Regions from separate parts of the Homo sapiens genome. Here region 1 is linked to region 2. The links are contacts of gene promoters, found by promoter capture Hi-C in blood cells and fetal thymus (Javierre and others, 2016). All regions are on one chromosome and are shown on one strand. The core of a region is centred on a gene start or on the middle of the fragment in contact, and the rest is flanking DNA. Distances in the headings are between cores, read along the strand shown.

Evidence for each region. Contacts are between HindIII fragments. The CHiCAGO score rates a contact against its expected background, and 5 or more counts as called.
Region 1: a fragment that was not itself captured here is called in contact with the fragment with the promoter of SESN2 in region 2 in 1 of 17 cell types (endothelial precursors); the score reaches 5.6 in endothelial precursors.

The regions. Positions count from the first base shown.
Region 1 is chr1:28,602,142-28,608,598 of GRCh38, reverse strand. It overlaps TAF12 (TATA-box binding protein associated factor 12), which reads left to right. Exons shown (of 6, transcript NM_005644.4): 5 at 3,139-3,227; 6 at 5,025-5,749. The coding sequence ends at 5,060. Among named protein-coding and RNA genes, the nearest start is that of RAB42, 13 kb to the right of the region's middle. RefSeq lists an enhancer at 5,660-6,160. The HindIII fragment of the contact is 676 bases long and covers 3,204-3,879 here.
Region 2 is chr1:28,256,054-28,263,363 of GRCh38, reverse strand. It overlaps SESN2 (sestrin 2), which reads right to left and starts at 3,846. Exons shown (of 10, transcript NM_031459.5): 1 at 3,427-3,846. The coding sequence starts at 3,516. RefSeq lists silencers at 2,936-2,995, 3,776-3,985 and enhancers at 3,255-4,103, 4,096-4,275. The HindIII fragment of the contact is 7,816 bases long and covers 1-4,903 here.

The DNA of each region.
Region 1 (6,457 bases), core at 2,292-4,791, 350 kb before region 2:
TATTTTTAGTCGAGACGGGTTTTCACTGTGTTGCCCAGGCTGGTCTCCAACTCCTGAGCTCAGGCAATCTGCCTACCTTGGCCTCCCAAAGTGCTGGGATTGCAGCCGTGAGCCACCACACCCGGCCTGCTCTCTTTCTTTAAAGTGACTTTGCACACTTTATCTACTTTTTGTTGACTGTAAAGTTCAATTCGTAGAGAATAACCTTTGTCTGCAACCTCCACCACCTGAGTTCAAGGGATCCTTTTTTTTTTGAGATGGAGCCTTGCTCTATCGCCCACGCTGGAGTGCAGTGGCGCGATCTTGGCTCACTGCAAGCTCTGCCTCCCAGGTTCACACCATTCTCCTGCCTCAGCCTCCCGAGTAGCTGGGACTACAGGCGCCCGCCACCACACCCGGCTATTTTTTTTTTTTTTTTTTTTTGTATTTTTAGTAGAGACCGGGTTTCACTGTGTTAGCCAGGATGGTCTTGATCTCCTGACTTTGTGATCCACCAGCCTTGGTCTCCCAAAGTGCTCGGATTACAGGCATGAGCCATCACGCCCGGCTGTTCAAGGGATTCTTGTGCCTTGTAGCTGGGATTATAGGCACTCACCATCACTCTTGGCTAATTTTTGTATTTTTAGTAGATAGGAGGTTTCACCATGTTGTCCAGGCTGATCTTGAACTCTTGGCCTCAAGTGATCCATCCGCCTCAGCCTCCCAAAGTGGTGGGATTACAGGTGTGAATCATCGTGCCTGGCCCTTTTTGTTTTCTTTTGAGGCAGGATCTTCCTCTTCACCCAGGCTGCAGTGCAGTGGTGTGATTATGGCTCACTGCATCTTCTACCTCCTGGGCTCAAGTGATCCTCCTGCCTTAGACTCCCAAGTAGTTGGGACTACAGGTGCACACCACCACATACAGCTAAAAAAAAAAGTTTTCTTTTTGAGATGGAGTCTCGCTCTGTCACCTAGGCTAGAGTGCAGTGGTGCCGTCTCAGCTCACTGCAACCTCTGCCTCCCAGGTTCAAGTGATTCTCCTGCCTCAGCCTCCCAAGTAGCTGGGATTATAGGCACCTGCCACCATGCCTGACTAATTTTTTATATTTTTAGTAGACACCAGGTTTCACCATGTTGGCCAGACTGGTCTTGAGCTCCTGACTTCAGGTGATCCGCCCACTTTGGCCTCCCGAAGTGCTGGGATTACAGGCGTGACCCACCACTCCCGCCCAGCTAATATTTTTATTTCTAGTAACAATGCAGTCTCACTATTATGCCTACACTGGTCTTGAACTCCTGGGCTCAAGCAGTCTTCCCGTCTTGGCCTCCCAAAGTGCTGAGATTACAGGAATGAGCCACCACATCTGGCCAGTGTCACTTTCAAATACTAATAACATAAATTGTTAGCAGAAGGTTTCAGACATTCTGTTTTCAAAGAAATATTGGGCCAGGTGTTGTGGCTTATGCCTGTGATTTGCTAAAAGTGACGTACACCTTTATACATGAGTTTAGGGGGCCATGCCCCTATGCCAGTTACTGTCAAAGAGGAATAAACAAAGTCCCTGTCCTCTGGGAACTTCTTGTGATAACCTTATAAGGAAGATAATATCCAGGGGCACCAGGTCATGGAACTGTGGTGTGGACATACTTCTCTCTATATCCATACCTATATGTTTACCCTAGGCTCTGGGCTGAATACTTCACATGCCTTATGTCATTGAATGCCCCAACCACCCTGTCAGTGGTTATTACTGTTGTTACAGCTACATAAAAAATGAAGAAACTGGGAGCCAGCGTCATACAGCTGCTCAGTGAAGCAGCAGACCTCAGCTTTGGCTCTTAATTCCAGAATGCTTGAAGTGCCTTCATGTCCCTTAGGTGTGAGAGGGGTTACTTTGAGCCTTAGGATTAAGACAACTAAAGAAATAAATGATATTTATTTTCTGTGAATTGGATAAGCTGCATGGAAACCTTAGGTCTCAGCATTCACAGCTTTGACTAAATTACCTCTTTTTCTTTGCAAGAAGCTTGAATTTTGTCCTTTAGAAACCTTGGAGGAAGCCAGGCATGGTGACTGATGCCTGTAATACCAACACTTCGGGAGGCTGAGGCAGGAGGATGTGCTTGAGCCCAAAAGTTCAACATAACAAGACCCCCTCTCTACAAAAAATAGAAATATACAGCCAGGCGCAGTGGCTCACGCCTGTAATCCCAGCACTTCGGGAGGCTGAGGCAGGCAGATCACCTGAGGTCAAGAGGTTGAGACCAGCCTGGCTAACATGGTGAAACCCCGTTTCTACTAAAAATACAAAAAATTAGCTGAGGCCAGGTGCGATGTCTCACGCCTGTAATCCTAGAACTTTGGGAGTTCGAGGTGGGTGGATCACGAGGTCAGGAGTTCAAGACCAGCCTGACCGAGATGGTGAAACCCCATCTCTACTAAAAATACAAAAATTAGCCAGATGCAGTGGCAGATGCCTGGAATCCCAGCTACTCGGGAGTCTGAGGCAGGAGAATCGCTTGAACCCAGGTGGCAGAGGTTTCAGTGAGCCGAGATCGCACCACTGCACTCCAACTTGGGCAACAGAGTGAGACTCCATCTCCAAAAAATAAAAAATAAAAAAGCCAGGCATGGTGGCACACACCTGTAATCCCAGCTACTCAGGAGGCTGAGGCAGGAGAATTGCTTGAACCTGGCAAATGAGCCTGTGGCATATTCAATGTTGAAGCCTGAGAGATTGCAGTGAGTCGAGATTGCGCCATTGCACTCCAGCCTGGGCAACAGGAGCAAAATTCCGTCTTAAAGAAATATAAGAAATAAGAAATATTAGCTGGCCATGGTGGCATGCGCCTGTAGTCCCAGCTACTTGGGAGGCCAGGATGGGAATATCGCTTGTGCTGGGGTAGTCAAGGCTGTAGTGAGCCAAGATTGTGCCACTGCACCCCACTCTGGGTGACAGAGTGGGAAGACCCTGTCTCCAAAAAAAAAGAAAAAACCTTGGAGAAGCCATGTCCATTTTCCCTATTTGTAATAGAATCCCTTTGTGGAGTTAGTAGCCAGATGCCCACATTCATCCTCCCTGATCCAAGGGGGTCACATTGCACTCCTGGTACTGCCTTCTTGGTACGTTTATCTCTGTGCTGGCTTCTTCCTTGCAGAGCGCCAGTGGAACATGTGGATCCCAGGATTTGGCTCTGAAGAAATCCGACCCTACAAAAAAGCTTGCACCACAGAAGCTCACAAACAGGTGAGGAAATGCCAGAGCCCTGGGGACAGCCAGGGCTGATTCCTTGAGTTACGTCTCAGAGTGGATACACACAGCTACCTTCTAGGGGGCCTCGCTTCCTCCACACAGCAAACTTCACTCTCTGGAGCAAGGGTCAGAGAGGGCAAGAGGCAGCAGCGGTCTCCGGGAGATCAATAAGATATTCACATGGTGCTGTGCTGTTCCCACATGTGGTCTGTTTTTTCTCGTAACTCTGTTGAGTGTCACTTAAAGCTGTTGATTCTGGGTTCTTCTAATATGGATGCAGCTCGCCCCACCATACCTCCTTAATGAAATCTTCCTTCATTGTTGCTGATTGCAACACCATATATGGTCCTATGAAGAGAGGGCAGGTTAAAGAAAGCAAAAATGTGCTGTACTTGTTCTGAGAGGTAGTATCCAGGCTGCCGTGCTGGACATTCTGGCCTGTGTCCTGGTTTTACCTTTGAACAAGGTTCCCTCTGAACAAGGAACCTAGGAGTCAGTGTGAGAATACTACTTCTGCTGTGGAGCAAGTCATCCCCATCTTTGGTCAGTCCAACAGCAGTGTTGGCCTCCCTCTGACAAGGCTGTTATCCTTTCTGTCTTAACTTAAGTGGCTACTCTGATTTGAAACGTGAGCTTTTTCCAAGCTTAGCAGGCACAACTGGGCAGTCCTGGTTGAGTGCCCCTGCTTCGCCATAGCCTGGTATCTCTGGAGCCGGTGTTTGTAAAGCTCACGAAGCAAGCCCTAAAGGGAAGCCACCAGTTTCCTGAATGGAAAGATTGCACTGTTCAGAAGAGAGTCCCTGCAAACAATGGACTGTCACTTTGTGCTCCCAAGTTAACCATTTTCAGCCCTATTTATTTAGTCGACAAATGCCATAATATTGGTATTTGGTCAAAAAGAATGAACAAAGTAAGTTGTTAATTTGGCTAGTAGCTAGTAATAGTAAAAGAATTCAGATCATGAAACCTATGATCTGAGTGTTTCCATGATGGACTGTGGTAGAAGTTGTTAGTCTTCAGTTTCCCTTCAATGCAGGTCATGAGATGTGAAATGTCAGCTCCCTTTGTGTGTGGCAACACTTTGAAATTGAGGCCCCTTCCCTATTGTGTCCATCATTGGAGAAAAGATTGGGGTCAGGGGACCCCAGAAAACACATGCTTGGCCAGGCGCAGTGGCTCATGCCTGTAATCCTAGCACTTTGGGAGGCCGAGCCTGGTGGATCACTTGAGGTTAGGAGTTTGACACCAGCCCGGCCAATGTAGTGAAACCCTGTCTCTACTAAAAATACAAAAATTAGCCAGGCGTGGTGGCACGTGCCTGTAATCCCAGCTACTGGGGAGGCTGAGGCAGGAGAATCACTTGAACTTGGGAGGCAGAGGTTGCAGTGAGCCGAAATCATGCCACTGCACTCCAGCCTGGGCAACAGAGCGAGATTCCATCTCAAAAAAAAAAAAAAGAAAGAAAGAAAACACATGCTTTGCCAGCTTATTCTCTAAGTCACCAAAACTCAAGAGCTGTCACTTTCTCCTGCTTTTAACTTTTTTGCCATTCTGCTAGCCTAGAGCAGTTTGGTGGATGAAATGGGTCCACTAGCCCATCTAAACATCTCTTGGGGCCTTGCAGACTGCTCTCTGGTTAAAAGGAATCTACTGAGATGCCTTGTGACTGCAGGTCTCTGAGGGCTGCGGCCTACAGTGTAGACCATGAGGCCTGCTAGCCACACAGAATGTTCCAGAAAGCTCCTGACTCCAGCTGCTGCTGTATAACTGCTTATTTGTCTCTCCTTTCAGAGAATGGCATTGATCCGGAAAACAACCAAGAAATAACACACGGAAAGGTCAGGGAATGGACAGCAATGTATTTGGAGATACTTGAGCTGAGAACTCAGCCATCTCATCCTTGGATTTTTTTTTTTAATGCTTTACAGAGAAGCATATATTTTTTATTAACAGTGCAGCAATATCTATAATGACTGAGAGGATCTGCCAAAAGAATAAAGCCTCCTACCCCAACTTCCGGTCCCTTTTCCCTGCCATCTCAAAGAGGAGCAATGTATCTTCCAGAGAAGATTTTATTTGTGGTTTATTATATAAGTGACTGAATATGGGACAAAGCATTATGGTCTTTTTGGGTAAGACAGTATTAGCAGGATTTGTAAAGGGTTTTGTTTCCTTCTCCCTTCCCCTTTTCCCTGTACTTTGTAATGTCAGTGTTTATATGAATATGACTTTCATTTGCTTTTCCAGAATAAAGAAGTTATTAATCGAAAGACAGGGTACCTTTGAAATCCCAGAGGGAGTCAGGACAAGCAAGCCTGGATTGTAGCTCTCTAGTCAGCAGGTGGCAGCATCGTTATTCATTTTGGTGTTTGAGAAAAACTCAGGGATTTTCCATCATTTTACCCCAAGGGAGGCCATAACATCAGCAGGAGTTTGAGTCCAGCTTCTCGGCCATAAGAATTGAGTAGGGTGACCTTCTCTCACGGCCCTCAACTGAAGAGGCATCCTTGTTTTGGCAATGTTATATGCCTAAAAACCCTTTTTGGTTTTTTTTGTTTTTTTTTAATTTTTTTTTTTTTGAGACGGAGTCTAGCTCTGTCACCCAGGCTAGAGTGCAGTGATGTGATCTTGGCTCACTGCCACCTCAGCCTCCCAGGTTTAAGCGATTCTCCTGCCTCAGATTCCCAAGTAACTGGGGTTACAGGCGCCTGCCGCCACACCGAGATAATTTTTGTATTTTTAGTGGAGATGGGGTTTTCACTGTGTTGGTCAGACAGGTCTCGCACTCCCAAAGTGCTGAGATTACAAGCGTGAGCCACCGCGCCCGGCCTAAAAACCCTTTTTGACCTGCTCTTCTGGAACTCCTGGAGAAAGCTGTGTTTGTCCCTGTCCCTGAGAAAGGATGGGAGTAGGCCCCTGTCCTCAGGATAGGCATGTCTGTGCAGGTGCCCATCTCTTCTTAGTTGCTGTTATCTTTGATCCTGGTGTTTTCACCATCATGCAGAAGAAACCAGGCGCCTTCCAGACCTCTGGGTCATGTCCTTCAGTGGCACCTAGCATCATCCTGTCCTGGGCCCAGCATGGCCCTTGTGGATTGTGAGAGTTCTGTGGGCTCTAGGGAGGATGGCTGTCCTACCCAAGGGTCACTAGCACAGGCACAGCCACCTTGATTTGCTTTGGTCCTCTGCGTCCTGAAGCTTGGCCCAGGATGAGACCCTGCATTT
Region 2 (7,310 bases), core at 2,597-5,096:
ACACTTGTCTGCCCATCATGAGCTGGGAACCACGCTAAGTGCTTTACACATCTGATTGTGCCAATTCCTCCCAACCACCCAGAGGGAAACAGTTCTTATAATCCCTTCTTCGGAAACAGGTCAGAGAGGCTCAGAAAGGTCCTCTTCCAAATGGGCACAATTCAGATCTGACTCCACGGCTGGAATAGTTCACAAGGGTCAGCTAAGCCAGCAAGGGGCAACTAGTCACGAACACTTATTAGGTGCAAAGAGCAGTGCTGGGGATGAGACTTGCAGGGTATCTCCAGCAAGGGACTATTTCACATAATTGGGACCAAAGCTCCTACAATGGAGGGAATGGAGGAGGGTGTGCAAGGGGACTTATCTAGTGGGGGAGGAAGGGCTTCCCTGAAGAAGAAATGATGTCTGAGAAAGTTTGTTTTGTTTTGTTTTTTTTGAGACGGAGTCTCACTCTGTCACCCAGGCTGGAGTACAGTGAAGCGATCTCGGCTCACTGCAACCTCTGCCTCCCAGGTTCAAGCAATTCTCCTACCTCAGCCTCCGGAGTAGCTGGGAGTACAGGCGTGTGCCACCACGCAGGGTTAATTTTTTGTATTTTTAGTAGAGACGGGGTTTCACCGTATTAGCCAGAATGGTCTCAATCTCCTGACCTTGTGATCCACCTACCTCGGCCTCCCAAAGTGCTTGGATTACAGGTGCGAGCCACCGCGCCCAGCCTGGTTTTTTTTTTTTTTTTTTTTTTGAGACAGACTCTTGCTCTGTCACCCAGGCTGGAGTGCAGTGGCATGATCACAGTTCACTGCAACCTCCGCCTCCCAGGCTCAAGCAATCCTCCCACCTCAGCCTTCGAAGTAGCTGGCGCACACCACCACGCCTGGCTAACTTTTGTATATTTTGTAGAGACAGGGTTTCAGGCTGGTTTTGAACTCCTGGGCTCAAGCAATCCATCTGCCTCGGCCTCCCAAAGTGTTAGTATTACAGGCATGAGCCACTGCATCTGGCCGAGAAAGTTATTCGGGAGCCCAATACTACCAGTACTAGAGTGAAGCCCTTGGAACTTTCTGAAGATACACACATCTGAAGGCAATGAGCTCCTGAAAGGGAGTGTGTGGTGAAGTGACAGGGAGTTAAGGGAGCTGCACGCCTGGGTCTTCTCTTGGACCTCGGGCACCTGACTCAAAGATCAGCACCCTGCTGTCTTCTAAGGATGCCACCACTCAAAGCAGAAACCGTCCGAAGGTCCTCTTTTCTCGAGAGAGGAATACACAGAAATCTCCCAGATAGGCCAGGTGCGGTGGCTCATGCCGGTAATCTCAGCACTTTGGGAGGCCAAGGCAGGTGGATCACCTGAGGTTAGGAGTTCAAGATCAGCCTGGCCAACATGCTGAAACTCTGTTTCTACTGAAAATACAAAAATTAGCTGGGCATGGTGGCGGGTGCCTGTAATCCCAACTACTAGGGAGGCTGAGGCAGGAGAATTGCTTGAACCTGGGAGATGGAGGTTGCAGTGAGCTGAGATCGTGCCACTGCACTCCAGCCTGGGCAACAGAGCAAGACTCCATCTCAAAAAAAAAAAAAAAAAAAGATAAGAAAAAGAAACCTCCCAGATAGCAGCAGTTTTCTCCACTGAGGAAACATGGCTTCTGTGTAAAGATCCCTCCCTCAAAGCCTTTTCTCCCTAGACCAGGCACTGACCCAGAGAGGGGTGTACAGTGTCTGATCTCAGGAACAGGCTCAGGCACCCCCTTGTGAGACACTCTGGAGAAAGCTGTGCGTGCCATGGCCACGTTCTGATAATAGCAAGCAAGTATCACGCAGTTACTATGTTCCAGTCACAGTGCTTCAGCTTTTGCTTGTATTCTGAGTTAATTCTCCCAACAATCCCTTAGAGATACTGTAAAATCCCCATGGGAAGAAACCACAGATCAGAGAAGTGATTACTGGCTAAGCCACACACTGCAAGTTAGCAGGAGGGCTGGGACATGAACCCAGCACTCTTGCTCTCTAGTGTTCAGGTGTTCTCAATAGTAACATTATTTCCATCTTTCCAAAGAAGTCACACAGCTGAGAAGCTGCAGGAGAAGAGCCATTCCTCCACATGGCGCTCCTAAATCACGGCAGAGAAGGGTAAGCAAGCTAACAAAAACCAGGGCACAAACTATACACCGACGGAGGTAGGATCCCCAGAAACCACGTTACTAAGAGAAAAGCAGGGATTTTCCTGGGGTCATAGCACTCCACCAAATCCCAGGTCCAGAATACAACTTCCACCACACTCTAGGCCTGTAAACTAAAGCAACTAGAAGCTCCTAGTGCCGTGCAATCTCCGAAATCATAAGGCCAAAGAACAAGATATTCAGTGGGGTTAATGAAGAAAGCCTCTTTCTGAGCCCATCGTGGGCCTCAATGTTCTTCCTGTAAAATGGGGCTATAGCGTAGCTTGTATTGCTGGTTTAGTCCTGAGGACTTAGGTTAAAGGCGAAAAAAACTCAGAGCCTGGTATCTAGTAGGTGCATAATAAATGATAAGATGTCCATTATCGCTGCTGCTGGTAGTGGTGGGGGAGTGCGAACTGTCAGTCTGGTTAGGTCCAGCCTAATTCCCGGTCTCCCTGCAAAGCCCCTGCGGGCTATGCCGGGATGCGAATGCGGGGGGGTGGAGGGGAGCGGCGCGAAGGGAGGGTGGGGGAGGAATTTCTGGAAAACAAACTTCTGGGCCTTCAGACCACTTACTTAGCAGGGCGCAGCCTAACCCGCGCTTGGCTTCGGAAGCCGCGACCAGGGTTGTCCCCTCTCCCCCCAGCTTTGGCTGCCGCCGCCGCGTACCGGGCGGCCCGCCAAGCCCCCAGAGCCCCTGCGCTCTCCCTCCAAAGCAGGAGTGCGGTGGACATAGGATGAGGTCGACTTTCACTGGCCAGTCCCAGGTGCCTACGCCCCGCGCTGGGGGACAGGAGCCGGGAGGCACCCCAGGAAGGGTCCTCTGCCCGCCGGCCCCCGCGAAGAGGAAGGGACTCCGCGGAAGGGGGCGGGGAGGAGGAGTGGTCTGGCCGCTCCGGCCGGGATTTGCCTGGACTTGAAGACGCTCAGGAGCCCAAAGCTCGGAGAGCCTCCAGAAGGCTTCTCCCTCATTGGCCAGGAGTCCGAGGGAGCCGAGGAAGGATCCGCGGCCCTGGGGTGGGGCGGTGAGGGAGAGGGGGAGAGGGAGGGAGGAGGGGGAGAGGGAGGGGGAGAAGGAGGGAGAGGGGAGACAGAGTGGGGGAGGGGTGCCGAGGGCCGCGGCTGCCAGTTGATGCAACCCGGGTCCCGGGTTACGCGCTCGGCTTTCCCTCCCCGAGCCCAGGACACACCGACTCAGCTCCGGACAGCCTGAGGCTCAGACGCGGTTCGGGGTTCCAGGGAAGAGGGGCGTCGCGCGGCCGCCGCTTACCTCTCCGGGGCCCGAGTCGCCGACGCCGCCCGGGGCGAACCGCAGGTAGTCCTTGAGCTCTGCGCGGCACTCGGAGTCCGCCACGATCATGGTGCGCGCCAGGACCCGGTCGCGGCTCGCCGACGACCCGTGCACCCGAGTGGGTTTCGGAGGGACGCCCGAATGAAGCCGGGACTGGGCGCCGCCGGGGAGCTTCTAGAACCCCGGGGCGTCTCTCGGGGCTCCAGAACGCTCCGGAATCCGAGAACGGCCGCTTTGGTGCTGGACTCTTCCCCCAGTCGGGCTTCGGGAACGGCGAACGGCCTCGGGGGCCTGGGAAGGGCCGCAGCGCAGGGGTTTTCACGGCCTCGGAAGTCCGCAGGGGCCAGGGCTGCTCCCGGACCCAGCGCTCCTCAGCATCCCCGCCGCGGAACTGCCAGCGCTCGCCGGGCTCTGACACCAGCAGTTCAGCCCGCTGCGGTCCCCGGGGGAGGGCGGGGACACAAAAGCCCGGCGGTCCAGCCAATCAGAGGTCTGTTTCCCCGGGGAGGCGGGGGAAACTCCGCCCCCTGGAGTCACGGGCTCCGCCAATCAGCACCGGGGAGCGCCCGGAATTCTGGGAGTTGTAGTCCGCCTCGGGTGAATGCTGCAAACTTTTGCAAGACGGTTTAGTCAGATCCCTGGCAACACCAGACGGCAGTGACAGCCCTAAGAGTCATTAGGGTTGCGTGATGAAAAGGGACTTCACTGGGCTAGGCCAAACAGCCGAGTGTGAAATCTCCTAAATGAATTCTTCATCTTTTCAGTTCCTGGAGGGACTGGCTAGGGTTAAGAGAGGTTTGGCTCGCGTCCTATCCGGTGCTGCTAATTATAGAACTGAACCCCAGATATTTAGAGGTCAGAGGGCACAACCCTGCTCCCCCTGGCCTCGGGGAAGCTCCAAAGATGCGAGACACAGGGAATTCACCTTATTTGTGGAGCCTCAGGAAAAGCCTTCATTCCTTGAAATGTCATTGGTAACTTCGTGTGGAACCTCAATCCCTATTGCTGGAAGTTTTCTTCCTTCTGCTACCCGTCCTGGCTTCCACCCCTCCCACCCTCCTCGAAACTTTGTAACAAGGTGTTCTGCTGGATCTTTGCTCACCTCTCCCTCTGGCCTTCTCTGACTCCTCTTTCACCACCCACTTCCTAAAACGTGGGTGCTTCCCCAGTTTGTTTTTGCCCCTCTTCCCTCCAGACACTCTCCCTGATCTCATTCACTTCCTGGCCTTCAACTCGCCTCTTGCCAGAAAGTTGCCTCTACCAACACCTCAGCACCTCCAAGCTAAATTCATTTTCTATTCATTTCAAACGGAGCCTCTTCCTTCACAGTTTTCCTTCAGAGCTCCTTTTTTTGTTTCCATTTTAAAGTTATTGTTTATTCTAGACAGGGAATCCTGCCAGGGGTGAGGGTGGATAAGACCCCCAAGTCCCCCTCTGAGACTTCTAAGTCTAAGCTTACAATTCCAAAGATGAAACCGACTTGGTTTCCTGCCTCCAGATTCTTGGGAAAAAGAGATTAATCTCACCCTCCCCTGAGCTCCCAAGGCACTTGAGCTGGATCTCTTTTCACATGTATCACATTCTACCTAGTTTTTTTTGTTTTTTGTTTTTTTGTTTTCTGTTTTTTTGTTTTTGTTTTTTGTTTTTTAGTAAATAGAGACAGGGTCTCAATATGTTGCCCAGGCTGGTCTCAAACTCCTGAGCTCAAGCGATTCTCTCACCTCAGCCTCCCAAAGTGCTAGGATTATAGGCATGAGCCACCATGTCCAGCCACATTCTGCCTTGTATTGTAATTTTCTATGTACATGTTTTATCTGACCCTTTTTTCTTTTTATTAGTATTGTTTTTTAGAGATGGGGTCTAGCTCTGTCACCCAGACTGGAGTACAGTGGCATGATCATAGCACGCTGCAGCTTCAAATTCCTGGGCTCAAGCGATATTCCCTCCTCAGCCCCCCAAATCAATCACTGGGGTTACAGGTGTGCACCACTGAGTCTGGCTTATCTGATCTTTTTAATTGTAAACTCCTTGAGGGCAGGGTCAACATCTTTTTTTTTTTTTTTTTTTTTTTTTTAAACAGAGTCGCACTCTGTCTCCCAGGCTGGAGTGCAGTGGCCCGATCTTGGCTCACTGCAACCTCTGCCTCCCAGGTTCAAGCAATTCTCCTGCCTCAGCCTCCTGAGTAGCTGGGATTACAGGCAAGTGCCACCACACCCGGCTAATTTTTGTATTTTTAGTGGAGACAGGGTTTCACCATGTTGATCAGGCTGGTCTCGAACTCCTGACCTTGTGCTCTGCCCGCCTCAGCCTCCCAAAGTGCTGGCATTATAGGCATGAGCCACCGCGCCTGGCTGGCAGGGTCTACATCTTGACATCCATCTCCTGCTCTATGTCACCTAGCAAAATGTCCTGACAATCATATGCCCTTGGTCACGGAATCTTCCTTTGCATCAACTTCCTCTCTAAACTACCCTGTGTCAGCTTCAGCTTTCATTTAAAAAATTTACTATGTGGCCAGGCGTGGTGGCTCACGCCTGTAATCCCAGCACTTTGGGAGGCCGAGGTGGGCGGATCACGAGGTCAGATCAAGACCATCCTGGCTAACATGGTGAAACCCCGTCTCTACTAAAAATACAAAAAATTAGCCAGGCGTGGTGGCGGGTGCCTGTAGTCCCAGCTACTTGGGAGGCTGAGGCAGGAGAATGGCGTGAACCCAGGAGGCAGAGCTTGCAGTGAGCCGAGATCGTGCCACTGCACTCTAGCCTGGGTGACAGAGTGAGATTCTGTCTCAAAAAAAAAAAAAAATTTACTATGTAATGTCAAAGTCCAGATCAAAAGGCTTCACTGGTATTTCATCAGCTACAGAATTAAGATCAAACTCCTTGGGTGGGCATGGTGGCTCACGCCTGTGATCCCAGCACTTTGGGAGGCAAAGGCAGGCAGATCACCTGAGGTCAGGAGTTCAAGATCATCCTGGCCAACATCGTGAAACCCCATCTCTACTAAATATACAAAAATTAGCCAAGCGTGGTGGTGCACGCCTGTAGTCCCAACTACTCGAAAAGCTGAGGCAGGAGAATCGCTTGAACCCGGGAGGCAGAGGTTGCAGTGAGCTGAGATCGTGCCACTGCACGATCTGGGTGTCAGAGCGAAACCCTGTCTCAAAAAAAAAAAAAAAAAAAATCAAACTCCTATCTTAACATTCAAGGTTTGCCAAGATGCACCTAATTTACCCTCCCATTCTTACCACCTGCAACATCCATGTTTCTTGTTTGGCCTTCAAATCTTTCTTTCAGTACTCTTCTTGCAAATCTCTACCCATTGAAATAGTATCCATCATTCAATGCCTTCATTCCTGTTTGTGGCCTGAAGCAAGACTTTAAATGACACCTCCTCCAAAAAGCTCAGCTGAAAGTAATCTCACCCAGTCCTCAACATCTTCAACACATTCTTTTTATCTCTTTCTACCACTGATCTCCAAACTTGGTGTATGCTTGATATCATGTGTATATATCTCACCACTTCCCTCCAACTGATGATAAAAATCTCTCATTGACCACGTGTACAAAGTGAGAAAACTTGAGCTCAGAAAGGTAAAATTGGCCAGGCTTGGTGGCTAACATCTGTAATCCCAGCATCTGGGGAGGCCAAAAGGGAGGATCCCTTGAGCCCAAGAGTTCGAGACCAGCCTGGTCAACATGGAGAAACCCTGTATTCACAAAAACTACAAAAATCAGCAGGGTGTGGTGGCATGTACCTATAATCTCATGTACTTGGGAGGCTGGCCAACATGGTAAAATCCCATCTCTACCAAAAACATAAAAATTAGCCGGGTGTGGTGCGAGAGCCTGTAATCCCAGCTA